Regions from separate parts of the Homo sapiens genome. Here region 2 is linked to region 1. The links are contacts of gene promoters, found by promoter capture Hi-C in blood cells and fetal thymus (Javierre and others, 2016). All regions are on one chromosome and are shown on one strand. The core of a region is centred on a gene start or on the middle of the fragment in contact, and the rest is flanking DNA. Distances in the headings are between cores, read along the strand shown. Region 1 holds the start of HELZ (helicase with zinc finger). Region 2 overlaps PITPNC1 (phosphatidylinositol transfer protein cytoplasmic 1).

The links. Contacts are between HindIII fragments. The CHiCAGO score rates a contact against its expected background, and 5 or more counts as called.
Region 2: a fragment that was not itself captured here is called in contact with the fragment with the promoter of HELZ in region 1 in 1 of 17 cell types (total B cells); the score reaches 5.2 in total B cells.

Annotation. Positions count from the first base shown.
Region 1 is chr17:67,240,421-67,247,847 of GRCh38, forward strand. HELZ (helicase with zinc finger) reads right to left here and starts at 4,776. Exons shown (of 33, transcript NM_014877.4): 1 at 4,728-4,776; 2 at 3,364-3,419. HELZ-AS1 (HELZ antisense RNA 1) reads left to right here and starts at 4,356. Exons shown (of 4, transcript NR_136398.1): 1 at 4,356-4,788. RefSeq lists enhancers at 4,000-4,987, 4,988-5,974 and silencers at 4,304-4,353, 4,454-4,943, 5,494-5,583, 5,594-5,793. The HindIII fragment of the contact is 7,952 bases long and covers 1-7,209 here.
Region 2 is chr17:67,691,705-67,699,131 of GRCh38, forward strand. It overlaps PITPNC1 (phosphatidylinositol transfer protein cytoplasmic 1), which reads left to right. Exons shown (of 9, transcript NM_012417.4): 9 at 868-5,552. The coding sequence ends at 1,184. All of the region lies in intron 2 of LOC101928045 (a long non-coding RNA gene), which reads right to left. Among named protein-coding and RNA genes, the nearest start is that of NOL11, 23 kb to the right of the region's middle. The HindIII fragment of the contact is 854 bases long and covers 4,197-5,050 here.

The DNA.
Region 1 (7,427 bases), core at 3,526-6,025:
ACATAAGTACTGCTCAAATTTGTTTACCATAAGCATACAGGAGTTTTGCATAAAAGTAAATAATTTTTTAAAACTGTATTAGTTAAACACGTTGCCTACTGACAGGAAGCTCGCATTATAGGACATTTTCATCACAACAAAGATAATTTCTGCAGAAGGAAGCAAAAAGGCAAATTCAGATGTGACAAGAACACCTAAAATATAGCACAGAAATGACAAAAATCACAAACATTCACACTTCAGAATAGTTCAGTCAACAAAGATGCCATGCATTCTTTGAAGAACCTGACGATGAATCAAGTTCTTTTTTGTTCAAAGACAAGATATATGTATACACTCTGCTTTACCAAACAACTTCCTGCTCTTACTTGGAGAAACTGACCCAGTACAATTCACAAAAGTAAACAAGTTGGTATGACTGTTGGTATTAGTTGAAAAACTTTCCATTTCTTTTGAATAATTAAAAGTTGACCAAAATAGTTATTACATGTATATATAAATAAAATTCTTCCTGTTACATCTACAGTGGTCTTTTAAAAAGAGGAATATTCACTTCTAACAGATTCAAGATTACTGAAAACTATTATCCCAGCCACCCTCAAAGCAATAAACCATCATGTTATATGCTGCTTCTAGCCAATGCTACAGAAGTAACCCTGACTGCACTCATCAACTGAAATGAATGGTAAGATAGTATGGCATACTCTCCACTTGTATCACTTTTCTTCTAGAAAACATTTCAAAACATTACTTAGAAATCCAATTACATCTGCATGTATATTCACCTAAGTTTATGAAAATTAAACCTAAAAATTTGCTTATAATTTTTTAAGTAGTTCCTCCCCATCTCTTGGATAACTGTTGTTGATACACCTGGCCCGAAATCTTCTATACATTTGAAACAACAGGCAAAGGTCCTTATTTCTTGTATGGGGCCTGTATTTGGATCTTAGGGTCTCTGACAGACAATTATAGACTAATCTACATTCAATATTAATGCCAAGCCTACTGCTTAAATAGAGAACACATGCATCTGTAAGATCTGGGCTACTTACTTGTAGGTCCCTCTGCACTATTCTTAGCCTTTCATGAATATGCTGTAGATTTTTTAATTACACGAGGCCCTTTGCAAGTAAAAATGACTTTTCCTGTTGTTTTGGCATCACTCCTCTTCCAGTGAAAACTGGACAGTCTATAAATATATACCAACTTTAAGACAATGCATTTTAATATCTATGGCATTAGAAAATAAAACTTCTTGTTAACAAATGCAATAATCAAGTTTACCAGCTAATAGAAAGGTACTTACTCCCAAAAACTACAGCCTTACCTAAAAATAGTGTCCTAGCTTCCCAGCCAAAAGGACAGACTAAAAAAGCTCTGTCTTTATTCAGCTCAGAGACACAGACTTCTACCTCACCACAACCTTCAATACTATGGCATTTCCCATTTTAGAATACTTTGTGTAACAAGTTGTTCAGTGGCCAACCACTAACTTCGCTTTGAAATGAATACTAACACTTCACAGAGTCTACATGTGTGAGAACTGTGGAAAATGTCTTGACACAATTCAGGTCAAACAACACTAGCCACACAAGATTACCTACTTCTAAGTATTCCATTTTAGACTACAAACAAACATCTCCACAGTCAAAAAGCAGACCACTGGCTCCTTTCCACAAAATTATCTGTAGGCTTCAAGAAAAAAGATAAGGCCAGGCATGGTGGCTCACGCTTGTAATCCCAGCACTTTGGGAGGCCAAGGCGGGCAGATCACCTGAGGTCAGGAGCTCGAGACCAGCCTGACCAACATGGTGAAACCCTCTCTCTACTAAAAATACAAAATTAGCCGGGTGTGGTGGCGTAAGCCTGTAATCCCTACTCGGGAAGCTGAGGCAGGAGAATTGCTTGAACCTGGAAGGTAGAGGTTGCAGTGAGCTGAGATCGCGTCATTGCACTCCAGCCTGGGCAACAAGAGTGAAACTCTGTCTCAAAAAAAAAAAAAAAGAAAAAAAATCTATCTATCTATATACATAGATACACACATATATACACATATATACATATATACACACATATCTATACACACATATATGTATATATACACACATATATGTATATATACACACATATATGTATATATACACACATATATGTATATATACACACATATATAAAGTTCAAATTGGGAGGTCTAAGGCAGGAATATGCCTCCATCTGCAAAATAAAAATAAATTTAAAAATCCATATTTGCTCTGCCAAAAATAAAAATTATATGAAATAAACATAAGCACTGCTGAGTTTCAAACACAAGAAAATGCAGTATGTGCACTTACAAAAGAATCTTGGTTTATGTCCACCTTCCTTTCCTAAGTTTTTATTTTTTTAAGGCAAAATGTCAATTACATGCCTCAATCTAGAAAAAAAAAAAAGGATAGCTTATTCTTCTTAAACAGATGTTGTGATAGACACGAAAAATTTGTGAGAGGATTTCAAAATCCAGAGGCCCAGATGTGTGGAGAAACAACAAAAAAAAAACTACAGTAACCAATCGACCACAATTACTTATTATTTTTCTAAAAAAAAACTTAGTAAAACATTTTAAGTTGAGAAAACTCGTGAAAAATGTAAAAGTAGCAAACTTCTCTTCCTCTCTATAGCACAGAAAACTATTCACTAACACTGTATCAATAATATCCTTTAAATCCAAAGCATTACAAATTAGATTAAATAAAGCACTTTGAATAAATTCACACACCGTGTGTGATCAGGACATAATGACAAACTAGTCTATTTCCTAATAAGCTAAACAGATCTCAACACTATCATCTTTATTTCAAAATAATTATTAAAGAGAAAAGTACTACTCCATTTTTCAGAAAATAAAAGCAGGAGTGATTGACCTGCCTAATTCTTTCTAACGGAAAGGGTATACTTTACGAGTCCCACAAACCAGGTACACACAAAATCCATATACATAATCACCGGGACTAAACGTACAGTAGGTGATAGACACCAAAACACAAATAAAATTAAGACATCCAAGTAAAGTTACGCAAGAAAATTTGAATAGGCAAACTATAATTATCCCTGGTGAAGATACTGATCAAGAATAGCTGCAAGTAACATTTGGCTCTTAGTTAAGTACCACTATGTTTGAGTATGTTGGAGCAACTGAAAAGATTGGTACATTCAACATATTTTTCCTTTCTAAATCTAGCCCTGCCCATAGACCCACTGACTGAGTGATACATTTGGAAAACAAAGATGGCCCCATCAAATTACTCAGTTTCAGCCTTACTCTTACCAGTTGATTAAAATAAAGAAGGAAAAAAAGGAAATCATTTTTAACTGCAGTCTCACCTTACACATCTCACCAGCACTGTAGTTCATTAGTGATCCATTACTTCATCCAAATCCTGAGGCAAATAGAAAAGATGTTTCCATACAACACCAGTAACAGACATTATCAGTAGCAAACATTTTATCAGCCTGAAGTGAAAGGGCATCTACATTTAAAATGGAAAAAGTTACAAAAATGGTACAGTGTGCAGCTTTGCAAATGAGTCTGGTTTTTGACCTTAAAACATTTCCTTTCAGTAAGGTAAAAGAATAGATTATACAATGCTCTTAAAACTCAAAAACATAATAAAATCATCTTTTTCAACACAGACTGACCTTACTTTCAAAAACATAAAGAAATGAAGGAGAGGAAATTTCATTAATATGAGTTTAAGAGAGAGCAAAATTAAGAACAAACTAGGCAAGACAGACAACTCCTCCCTCCTTCCCCCGCTCCAGGAATCCACTGTCTCTGAAGTTACACTTTTTATTATATTAATGATTTGCCTGAGAAGTGTTAAGTTGTGAGGGAGAAGGAATGACAATTTTTGAACTGCAAACAAAACCTGAGGATCCCGATCCAAGAACAATCAGAGGACCCTGGCTTCCAGCCCTGTCTGAAGATTTCTCAGCAAAGGCGAGGGTGCAGAAGGCTCCAATAATTTAGGGGAGAGGAATCGAAGTTCCCTAGGTAAGACTGCAGTCTGTGAGCCCTTGAAAAGGGTACTGGAGTACTCTCAAGGAATCTCCAGGAAAAGAGAGCCTATCTTTATTTTTGTTGATGTGCTTGTGGGCCAAAGAGCATTTCCGAGGAGGGGGCGGGGAAAGGGGGGAAGAAAGTGAATCTCGGGCCGAGAGCCCTCCGCGGGGGAGGGAGGGGGCGCACGCCTGACCCACTTTTCCCCACGCCCCCGCTCCAGCCCCCACCCCACCCGGTGGAAGTCCGAGGCCTGAGGGGGGGCATCGAGCGGGGCGTGGGAGGCCCGCACGCTCCCCACCCCCAGCCGCGACCCGGAGGAGGGGAACGTGCCGGGAGGCTCGAGTCCCCCTCCCAGAGTGCTCTGGGCCGGAGAAACCTCCCGCAGGCTCCCGGGCCAGGCGTGCAAGGCCCCCTCTCCTGCCAGGGCCCAGGACGCTGCGGGCCCCAGCGGAGGGGAAGGGGACTAAGTAGGGGAAGAAGCTGTAAACAGCCCCAGCGTCCGGGCCTCGCCTCGAAGAGCCGCGCTTCCCAGGCCCAGCCGCGGGCCGCCCAGGCCCCCAGCCTGCCCCGGGGCCGCCGCGCCCGGGGTCCGGGACACCGGAGGGGAGTCGGGTCCCCTCCCCGGAGAGCTCCGGGAGCTCGCGGAGCGGCCCCAGGAGCAGAGAAGGGGGAAGTCAGGACTTACCTGTCATTACTTTCTACGCCATCTTGGATCCACTTGTCAACGTCCCCACAAAGCATTATGGGTAAGAAAGAGCCTTTAAAGTGACTCCCCCCGGCCCCCGACTCCCGCCTCCCGCCGCCGGCGCCGCCCCCTCCGGCCGCGCCTCCCGCCCGGAAAGTTGCCCCGGGTGGACTGCCGACCCCGGCGCCCGCAGCTGGCCCCTTCCCCTCCCCCGGGCTGACGGCATTGAAAATTCACCCGCATTTTTAAAACGTGGCTTTGGGGTTTTCTCCCTTTCTCCTGCCCCGGCCTCCCTGCCCCCACGCCCGGTCCTCTCGCCTCGCCGCGTTCCTGCCCGGGCAGACGCCCCGCGTCTGCATTGAATCAACCCGAGGTTTCCTTGCCGCCCGCGGCGCGGCGCGGAGCTGCTCGCGGATTTATTTGTGCGCGTGGATGTGAGCGTTTCTGCTCCTGCGGCCGCGCTTCCAGGAAGCCCGCGAGCGGCCGGGGTCGCCTTCAGAGGCCGCGCAGACCAGCTCCGCACCCGCCGCCCGGAGAGGTGCCTCTGCCCTGGGAAACCGCCCCGGGGCCGTTGGGCTCCGGGAACTGGGAGGACGCCGTGTCCCCGAGTCCACCAGCGTCGAAGCACGATTTAAAAAAAAAAATTGAGCCAAATGCAACTTTTTACCCCTTGTTTACTCTGTGTCCCGCGGTCTCCTCCTCCGGGCGGGTAACGTGATCCGCGACCCTCTAGGTGGGGACCCCTCCCCTAGGAATGTGGCTCCAGGCTCCGCGGAGCCACCCTGGGAGCGTCCGGGCTGCGGACTGTGACTCCGGGGCAGGTAATCCGGGGCGCCGGCTGCGGGCTCCGGGCGGGGCGGGGCGCGGAGGCAGCCAGGGCTCGGGGGAGGGTCCCGGGCGGAAAGCAGGGTGCGCCAGTCCGGGTCCACCTGGCGGGTCGGGGGAGAACCGCGGGCGCCGCTGCAGCTCGGGAGGCTGGAGGTGGGGACGCCCGGCGTCTCCGGGCTGCGACCCGCTGCGCTGGAAAGTGTGGGGCGCCTTGGCGCGGGCTGAGGTCTCTGACCCGGGCGAGTACCCCCAGCCCGCCGGCCACACTGCTGCCGGGCATCCTCTCCCCGCGACACCACGCCCGCTTTCGGCTGCGCGGGGCGAGCAGCGTACTGACCCCGGCGTCCAGCCGCCCAGGTCCCCCCAGCAACGGAGGCCCCTTGGTCAGCCTCCTCCCGCGCTCTCCGCAGAGCCTCTGGTCCCTGCTTTGCTGTCTTTGGAGGCCTGCTCCAGTTGCTTTTTTTTTTTTCCAAGCAAGTTTTTACAACAAGGAGATACCCAAAAGAAAATTCTCCAAGACAGGAATGCTTGCGAATTGTATTCGGTACAAAATGCTGTTGAACGGCTCTACCTTTAGAAGACCGCAGAAGCACTGGCATTAAAACCCTCTTTCGGTGCACGGGGAGGGCCTGGGGCCTTGGATCTACCCGAGGATTTTACGCTCCTCCAGACCCTATCAACAGCCTCACTAGGAACGTGAACGGTGGCAGACAGGAGCCCTGCCCCTGGGGAGCCAAAAACTCCACCAGGCAATTGTCCCGGTCTGATGAGAAGGTGTAGACACATTAAGGGATTGGCCCCGGGTCACTCGTGAAGGAGGGAACGAGGTAGTGAGTCATTCCCAGCCAAGAACGCAGCGTGCTGGGGAGCAACCTCCCCTGAGTCACCTGCTTCTCACCTCGGAATAAGTGGAGAAACTGGAGCCTGGAGCCAGGTTCTTAGACGGCCCAGCAAGGTAGCCACCAAGGGCATGGGCTAGGCTGGGGGGAGGCAGCGCCCCTCCTGCTGGAAAAGGGAATGCTTGGCCCGTCTGAAGAAGGCTCCAATGTCTCTTTCCAGGGTACCCCAGGTGCTTCTTTTCCAATTCCTCTTTTGCACTTATTTAGCCACTGGTATGCACTGGCTTAATGGTGGTTTTGTTTGCATGGCACCTTTAGGTATGTGGTCTGAGTTTATGCAAAAGTAATGACAAAAGCCGCAGTGACTTTTGCACCCACCTAATATAAGTAAACAGGAAATAAGTTGAGGGCAAGGACTGTGTCTCCCAAACACGTTTCTTTGATAAGCAGCCTTTCTTTGCCTTGTATAGGCATTGACCCAAATAAGTGTTCAGTTTGTGTGACTGCCCAACCCATTCACTGCCTCCAGTGTGTGCATCCAAGCCCAACCTTGTCAAATACACCGCCTGTTGCCTGAGCTGGGACGGCCTGCCGACTCTTCTCCCTGCCCCTCCTGGATACCTACAATGCATCCTCCACCTGACCAACCCTGTGATATTTTATGAATGTAAATCAGATCGAGACTTCTCTGCTGAAACCTTGGAATAAAACCCAGATTCCCAACCCTGGCCTACAAGCTCCTGTGTGAGGTGGTCCCACCTTCCCTCACCAGCAGTGGTCCAGGCTGGCCTTCTCTCTTTCCCTGCAGCGCCCCAAGCTTCCTTCCAGTGAGAACCCTATTCCCCCAGATCTTCTGATTATCTTTTCTTTGACAGAGTCTTGTTCTGTCGACCAGGCTAGAGTGCAGTAGCGCGATCTCAATTCACTGCAACCTCCGCCTTCTAGGTTCAAGCTGTTCTCTGCCTCAACCTCCTGAGTAGCTGGGATTACAGGCGTCCGCCACCGCGCCCGGCTCATTTTTGTATTTTTAGTA
Region 2 (7,427 bases), core at 3,374-5,873, 450 kb after region 1:
TTAAGAAGATAGCATGTTGGCCTGAGTACAGTGGCTCACGCCTGTAATCCCAACACTTTGGGAGGCTTAGGCAGGCGGATCACTTGAGGTGAGGAATTCAAGACCAGCCTAGGCAACATAGCGAGACCCTGTCTCTACAGAAAATACAAAAAAATTAAACCAGGCATTATGGCATGCACCTGTGGTTTCAGCCTCACGGGGCCCTAATGCAGGAGGATCACTTGAGCCCAGGAGGTCGAGACTGCCGTGAGTCATGATCGCACCACTGCACTCCAGCCTGGGTGATGCAGTGAGATCCCGTCTCAGAAAGAAAAAAAAAAAAGAAGATAGTATGTTGAAAAATCCTGATGATTTACCTGTTTACCCTATAAAGGTATACTTTCATGATCTAAAGTTGACAATAATGACAATAATATGTGTCATTTCAGGGCCATTGATTGTTTTAATTACCTTCTCTTTATGAAAAATATGACCAGTTAATTATAGCTCCAAATACCCCACACCAGACCCACAACAACACAGATGCACACGGGTGCACACACATACACACACACAGGCACATATTTCCCCCGTCTAGTTCTGTATTCTACTGTTAAGTCCTTATTGAGAATACTTAAAATACTCACTGTGAAGAGTGCTTTGGAAAATCTTAAATGGATAATCATAAAGGGATATTGTTTTCAGGGTGTAGCTTCCAATAGAAAAAATTGGGGGTTTGGTATTTCAATGATACTTTGGGTGTATAATCGGGAGAGGCCCCTTTATGATAGGGTTCCCATAGTTCCTGTAAAAACAAGGGTAGTGATGAATCTATTTGCCTCTCTTATAAATAACTGCTCGTTTTTCTTTCTGTTTTTCTCCTTGAAGACATGACAATGGATGAAGTCCGAGAATTTGAACGAGCCACTCAGGAAGCCACCAACAAGAAAATCGGCATTTTCCCACCTGCAATTTCTATCTCCAGCATCCCCCTGCTGCCTTCTTCCGTCCGCAGTGCGCCTTCTAGTGCTCCATCCACCCCTCTCTCCACAGACGCACCCGAATTTCTGTCCGTTCCCAAAGATCGGCCCCGGAAAAAGTCTGCCCCAGAAACTCTCACACTTCCAGACCCTGAGAAAAAAGCCACCCTGAATTTACCCGGCATGCACTCTTCAGATAAGCCATGTCGGCCCAAATCTGAGTAACTTTATATAAATATCTCATGGGGTTTTATATTTTCATTTGTTGTTGTTGTTTTTTTTTAAGAATCTTCTGATAGAGAAAAAGACTGCTTTGTCACTCAAACATGTTCCTTCGACCTTTCAGTGTGCATGTGACTCAGTAACTTCACATAGAATATGATTCCCTAAGTATGCTACACAGCATCATATTAGATGTAAGATGTAAGACTTGCAAAGGACAGAAGGAATCTTCTGTAACCACATAGCTGTATGCCAGAGAGGAAGCCTTGTTATTGGGCATTTGATGAGGTTTGGCATGGACTTCAAGGATAAATGAATGAAAACTTTGCACCACTTTTGTTACAAGGTACGGTAGAAAATAGTGAAGTCAGTTTCCTCTCATCAAATCTAAAATTCTCCAAAATACTCTCAGGCATAACATACTTAGCTGTTAAATTTTGAACTGCTAATTACTAATACTTGAATACCAATAGTTACTGAGATTCCTATTTTGTGGTTAGTCTGACTCAGGATTTGGAGCCTAATTAACTCTAAACTTTTGAAAATTTTAATCATCAAGCTATAGAGGCTCCAAGTGCAATTAATAATAACTCATTTATACCTTCCACAGAATTTAATAAAGATTCTACTTGTTTCTGTCTTTTAATAACTTTCCCCTTTTGTGCCCTTGTGGCCTCAGAAATCCTTAAGAATTGCATGGATGAATGTGACCATAACTGATTTTGGAATGGTTCAGTTTAGGAACCAAGAGGCCCAGGTGAGGCAACATCTTTTTTCTCTACAGGTACCAACAAACCTTGACTTGTCAGCTTCCATCATCAATTAAGATTCTCAGAATTTGCAATTAATTGAATAGAATTCATTTACTATCTGCCCACTCAAAGAAGTACAAGGGTAGAGTAAGCTAACTGGGCTTTAACATGGTCAGAATGTCTGGTGCATGAACTATAAAAAAGAGAACTGTCTCCCATCCCCTTCCTTGTTTTACTCTTAGTAACATCCAGAATTCCCTGGAACAGATTGCCTACCACCAGACCTTAGAAAAGACTGTCATTCTCTTGCTCCTTACTTGAAATACAAATATTGGGAATGTCACAGACATCAAGCAACTACTGTCAAGTGGGAGGAGAGAATGAGCAGAATTGCTGACTCCTATTTGTAGAGTGAAAAGGAGGAGTGATAATAGATGCCCTTCTGTCTAGCTTTCCTTTCTTCAACTAGTGGTAATGCAAGATTAGAATCAAGGTTGACAGGAGGCAAGGTCACTCACTGAAGTGACAGAAAGACAATTCTCCTTTGCTCCAAAGAGAGAAATCTGTCACCTTTGCACCTCACTGCCTTTAAACACAGACGGGAGGGCAGGCCAAATCTCAGCATTGACTTTTGTCCTCCAAGAGAGGAAGAGAAGAAGTAATTGGGCAACTTGGAGGCCCACGCCCCAGCTAGCCTTCCTGATCGTAACCTCCAACCTCAGGAAAGGGACCTTCCCAAAACACAGATCCCAAAGGAAACAAAATAGACCAAGGAGCATAATCTGCTTCTCTCACACAGCCTCTCTGCCAGTGGACCCTGCCTGCTTCCCTCTCAGTGCTCAGCACTCTGTGTAGTGTCTTTCAGGTTGATACACTCTCCCAAGGTGCAGGCGCTGGCCCCATGAGCCCAGCACCAAAGTTTTCTAAGTCATAGGTCAGACTGTCAAGATCATTTCTTTATCTATAGGTTGATATTTAGCTTAAAAAAAAAGAATAAACCTAGAACTCAAAGGAAACCTGTTGCAAATAGCTTAGATCAACAGTGTATCTCTTCCCTAAGAATGATAGTATCTTAGTAAGACACCTTCTATGCATGGTATGGAAGCATGATTTTTGCTTGTGGGAAAACCTAATATTTTATCAGACCCCTCGGACTTCTCAATCCCTCCCTCTCCACACAGTAGTACTTAATGAAAATGTTTTGCTTTAGAGAGCAAAATGCTACTTTCAGAAGACACTGAAATAGTATATGTATTTGCTTACCATTTGCAAGCTAAAATCAAGGTGGGATGGGGTCATTATTTTCACATAGAATGTATTTATTTTGTGCAGGCTGTTAAACACATCTGGCACCTAGTTTTTCCATTAAGAGCATTGCTATTTTCCCTTTTTATAAAGTAGCTTCTGCTGTCAAGGTTAACAATTCTATATGCTTTAGGAAGCTAAGTTCTAATTTCCTTTTGTGAGTTTCATTTCTTTTATAACCAGTATGTTACCACAGACATCAGTTGCAAAGCTACGATGATAGTGTGATTCTTAGCCGAAAAAAAAGCGTGTGCTCTTAAAGTATGTTCAGTTTTTCTGTCTACATATGCTTTGTGTGAGTTAAAAAGGGGGTGGGTGGTGTAAATATTCCTTTAGCTGCTTTGCATATTTAACCCAGTCATCAAAAGGCATAAATGACTTCAATATTTTATATATCTTGGTTTTCAAGTATCATTTCACATTCTCTATACATGACTTTGTTATTGTGGAATACAAGCCTGCAATGGATGTATATATACAGAACATTAATAATTCTTAGAAGGATGGAAGCCAAATGGCTGCATGATGGAAATTAGAAGAAAAAAAAAGCAGAAACTTGAATTTGCTAAGCATGTTTGGGGGGAAATAGAATCCTTAACTCAGTGCCTCTGTCTGCGATATGGAAACCTTCAACTTTGTTCACCAAAATTGTATTATACCTGTGTATATATATATATATATATATATATAAATATAAATATAGTATAGTGAATCAGACACCATCAGTTTTAAGTCTCTGGTAGCCAAACTTAAATAAATAATCCATAGAATATCACATACGTTCACTCCATCTTCATCTCTGAAGTTAGTGGAGACCATCAAAATGACTGTACATTTCATAACTCTGGGAAGATTTCAAATGTGAAGTGCCCCTGTGCATTTTCTTGGCCATAGCACGGCATTCTTGCTTTAGCTGTGCTTTCCTGGGATGAGAAGATCTTGGTGTATTTAACACATAAGCTTTGTTAGAAATCACCTCTGAAGATCATTTCATTTTCTCACTTTGGGTTGTTGCAAGACAAAGCAAAGGAAAAGGAACACAATGAAGGAGGCCGTGACATTTTTAGTTGCCACCGTTGTAACTCAAACAATATGGGTTTGTTGGTGAACTGATTTATCAAGGCTTCTGTTACGGTTTTGCATCTGTGTGTGAGGAAAATTTTAATTTATTTGGAAGTATTTATTAGCCATGTTGTTGGTCCTGAAAATAAATCTCTAAGTAGCACAGTTGTGGGTATATTATGCAGACACTTACCACAATACCTGCAAAAGTAACTGTGGTTTTCTTTCAAGACACTGTAATAAACAGTGAACTAAGAGAATAGATTCTGATACATCTCGATAAATCATTCTCTGCAAAAGTTTCAGGGCTAATGTATTTATGTGTATTTTTAAATTCTACTTTCTTTGGCATCTCTTCATGGCTCAGCGACAACAAAGTAATAGGTCATTGGCTGGCTTACGTCGATAGGAATTTTACTCTTAAGAAGGGCCAGTGTATAGCTGACTCTACATATAATGTGTAATCAGATAATCCAATAGAGAGGAATTGTCCAAATAGTTTTAGTACCTTTCTGATCATCTGACTCAGTAGGCTAGGAGACAATCTGTCATCTGAGCCATAGTTCTTGAGATTTAAAAAGTCTGTCCAGTGACTGCAATCTGATTATGAATAAACTATTTTAACTATTCATTCTTGCTGAAACTGAAGTGTACACAATAGCACACTGTTGGCATGCTGAGGCAAAACATTGGGTTCTTTTGTGTTCTACCTTCAAAACAATCTGTTTGCATTTGAAATATAAGTGTTTAAGCTTTTTAGGAGTTAGTGTAATAAGAGAATGTGAATATGTTGGGAAATTTTCAGATGCCATTAATAATTGTAATTTTGTTGTTAAATTAACAAGGACTTTAGGATAAGCCTCTTGATGTTTTTTGCTTTAAATTGAAAGCATGTCTGTCAAATTGCAAGTCTCCCTTCAGTTTCTATATATCACCCAGGAGAGGGTCTCTGAGTTGGTGTTGTACCTGTACCACTCACATGTAGCTCAAGTGTAATTTGTAGTGTTTACATTCAAGCTGGGATCTTGATTGGTTAAATTAATCCACATACCACTGCCACTGCTGAAGGACCAGGTGTTGGAATACACAGCATTACAGACTATAAGCAAAGCAAACAAAAGTTGATCCTTACATATGCCATCCTTCTGTGTCATTTTGTGGCTGTTCTGTGTTTTTCTTCCTAGTTATTTATTATTGTTAATAACTTACTTTTTCTTACATTCTGTTGTAAATAAAATACAAAGCAATCTTCTTTGCAAGCGTAGCTTCCTCTCTCTCTCTCTCGCTCGCCCTCTCTCTCTCTCTCTCTCTCTCCTCTTTAGCTATTCTCGAGGGAATGTTAGTAATTGTTCACCTGTGGGTTGATGGGCTTGCTTCTTTTCCTCTATGGATTTTTTTACCCATCCCCATACCACTGCCACTGCTGAAGGACCAGGTGTTGGAATACACAGCATTACAGACTATAAGCAAAGCAAACAAAAGTTGATCCTCACAGATGCCATCCTTCTGTGTCATTGTGTGGCCTTGCCTGCTAGTAGGCATATGGCACCTTCAGGACCCTTGGTAGGAAAAGTCTGAGTGTCTGCACTAATTATCCAGCCAAAAATTACACAAGGTGGCCAGCCAGGCCAACATGGCGAAACACCATCTCTACTGAAAATACAAAAATTTCCCAGCCGTGGTGGCACACGCCTGTAGTCGCAGCTACTCAGGAGGCTGAGGAATGAGAATCACTTGAACCCTGGAGGTGGAGGCTTCAGTGAGCTAAGATCACGCCACTGCTGTCCACTCTGGGTGTGAAAGAGCAAGAGCCTGTCTCAAAAAGACAAAACAAAACAAAAAAACCCTGGCTGAGGCCGGGCGCAGTGGCTCACACCTGTAATCTCAGCACTTTGGGAAGCCGAGGCGGGCAGATCACGAGGTCAGGAGATCGAGACCATCCTGGCTAACACGGTGAAACCCCGTCTCTACTAAAAGTACAAAAAATTAGCCGGGCGCGGTGGCGGTCGCCTGTAGTCCTAGCTACTCGGGAGGCTGAGGCAGGAGAATGGCGTGAACCCGGGAGGCGGAGCTTGCAGTGAGCCGAGGTCACATCACTGCACTCCAGTGACAGAGCGAGACTCCGTCTCAAAAAAAAAAAAACCCGAGGTGAATCTGTAACCCAGTGGGATACTCATGCATCCGTCCACCAGGTGCTTGGTTCCCTCGCCTCGAATGTGAAGCTATCCACCCTGAGGGAATCTGTAGGAACACCATCCCAGTGGTGTTCCTAGATTCTCTCCACTGAAGGTTGGGCCAGTTTTTAAGGTGAGCTGAAATCACTCTGATGTGGTTTCTCCATCTCAGGTAGCTCCTGTACACAAAAGGGTTCTCTGCAGATGGGTAGTCTGAGGACAGAAACTTTTATTTCTTTGGGGTTTTTTTTCGAGTCTCACTCTGTTACCCAGGCTGGAGCGCAGTGGTGTGATCACAGCTCACTGCAGCCTCGACCTCCTGGACTCAAGTGATCCTCCTGCCTCAGCCTCCAGAGTAGCTGGGACTACAGGTACACACCACCACACCAAGCTAATTTTTTATTTTTTCTAGAGACTGGTTAAACTATGTTACCCAGGCTGGTCTTGAACTCCCGGACTCAAGTGATCATCTCGCCTCAGCCTCCCGAAGTGCTGGATAATTATAGGTGTGAGCCACCGCACCCAGCCAGAATTACTTTCTAGCCCCCTGCTCGTTAGTCTCCTGCTAAAACAGCATATACCTCTCACTCTGTTCTCTCCTCTTGAATCATCCACATCCTATGTTCTAATCTGTGACTGGATCAGGCACACAGCTTCATAGAATAGCACACCATCAGTCGGCTTTCTACACTGAAAATTTTCCCAAAATCATATTGCATCGTTCCAATGAACAAAAACATGCTTGCTTTTGTAGCTCCAACTTCACCATTACCACCCCCAACCTGCCTTTTACTTCTTTTTTCAAAACACACAAACTTTCCACACATTGTTGTTGGCTGACTTTCAGCCAGTGAACTTGGGTACAGCCAGGCTGGGTGTTTATTCCCGGGACCAAACTATATGGGTGGTTAAACATTTGGATGCCTAATGTTAAATATATATATATATATGTT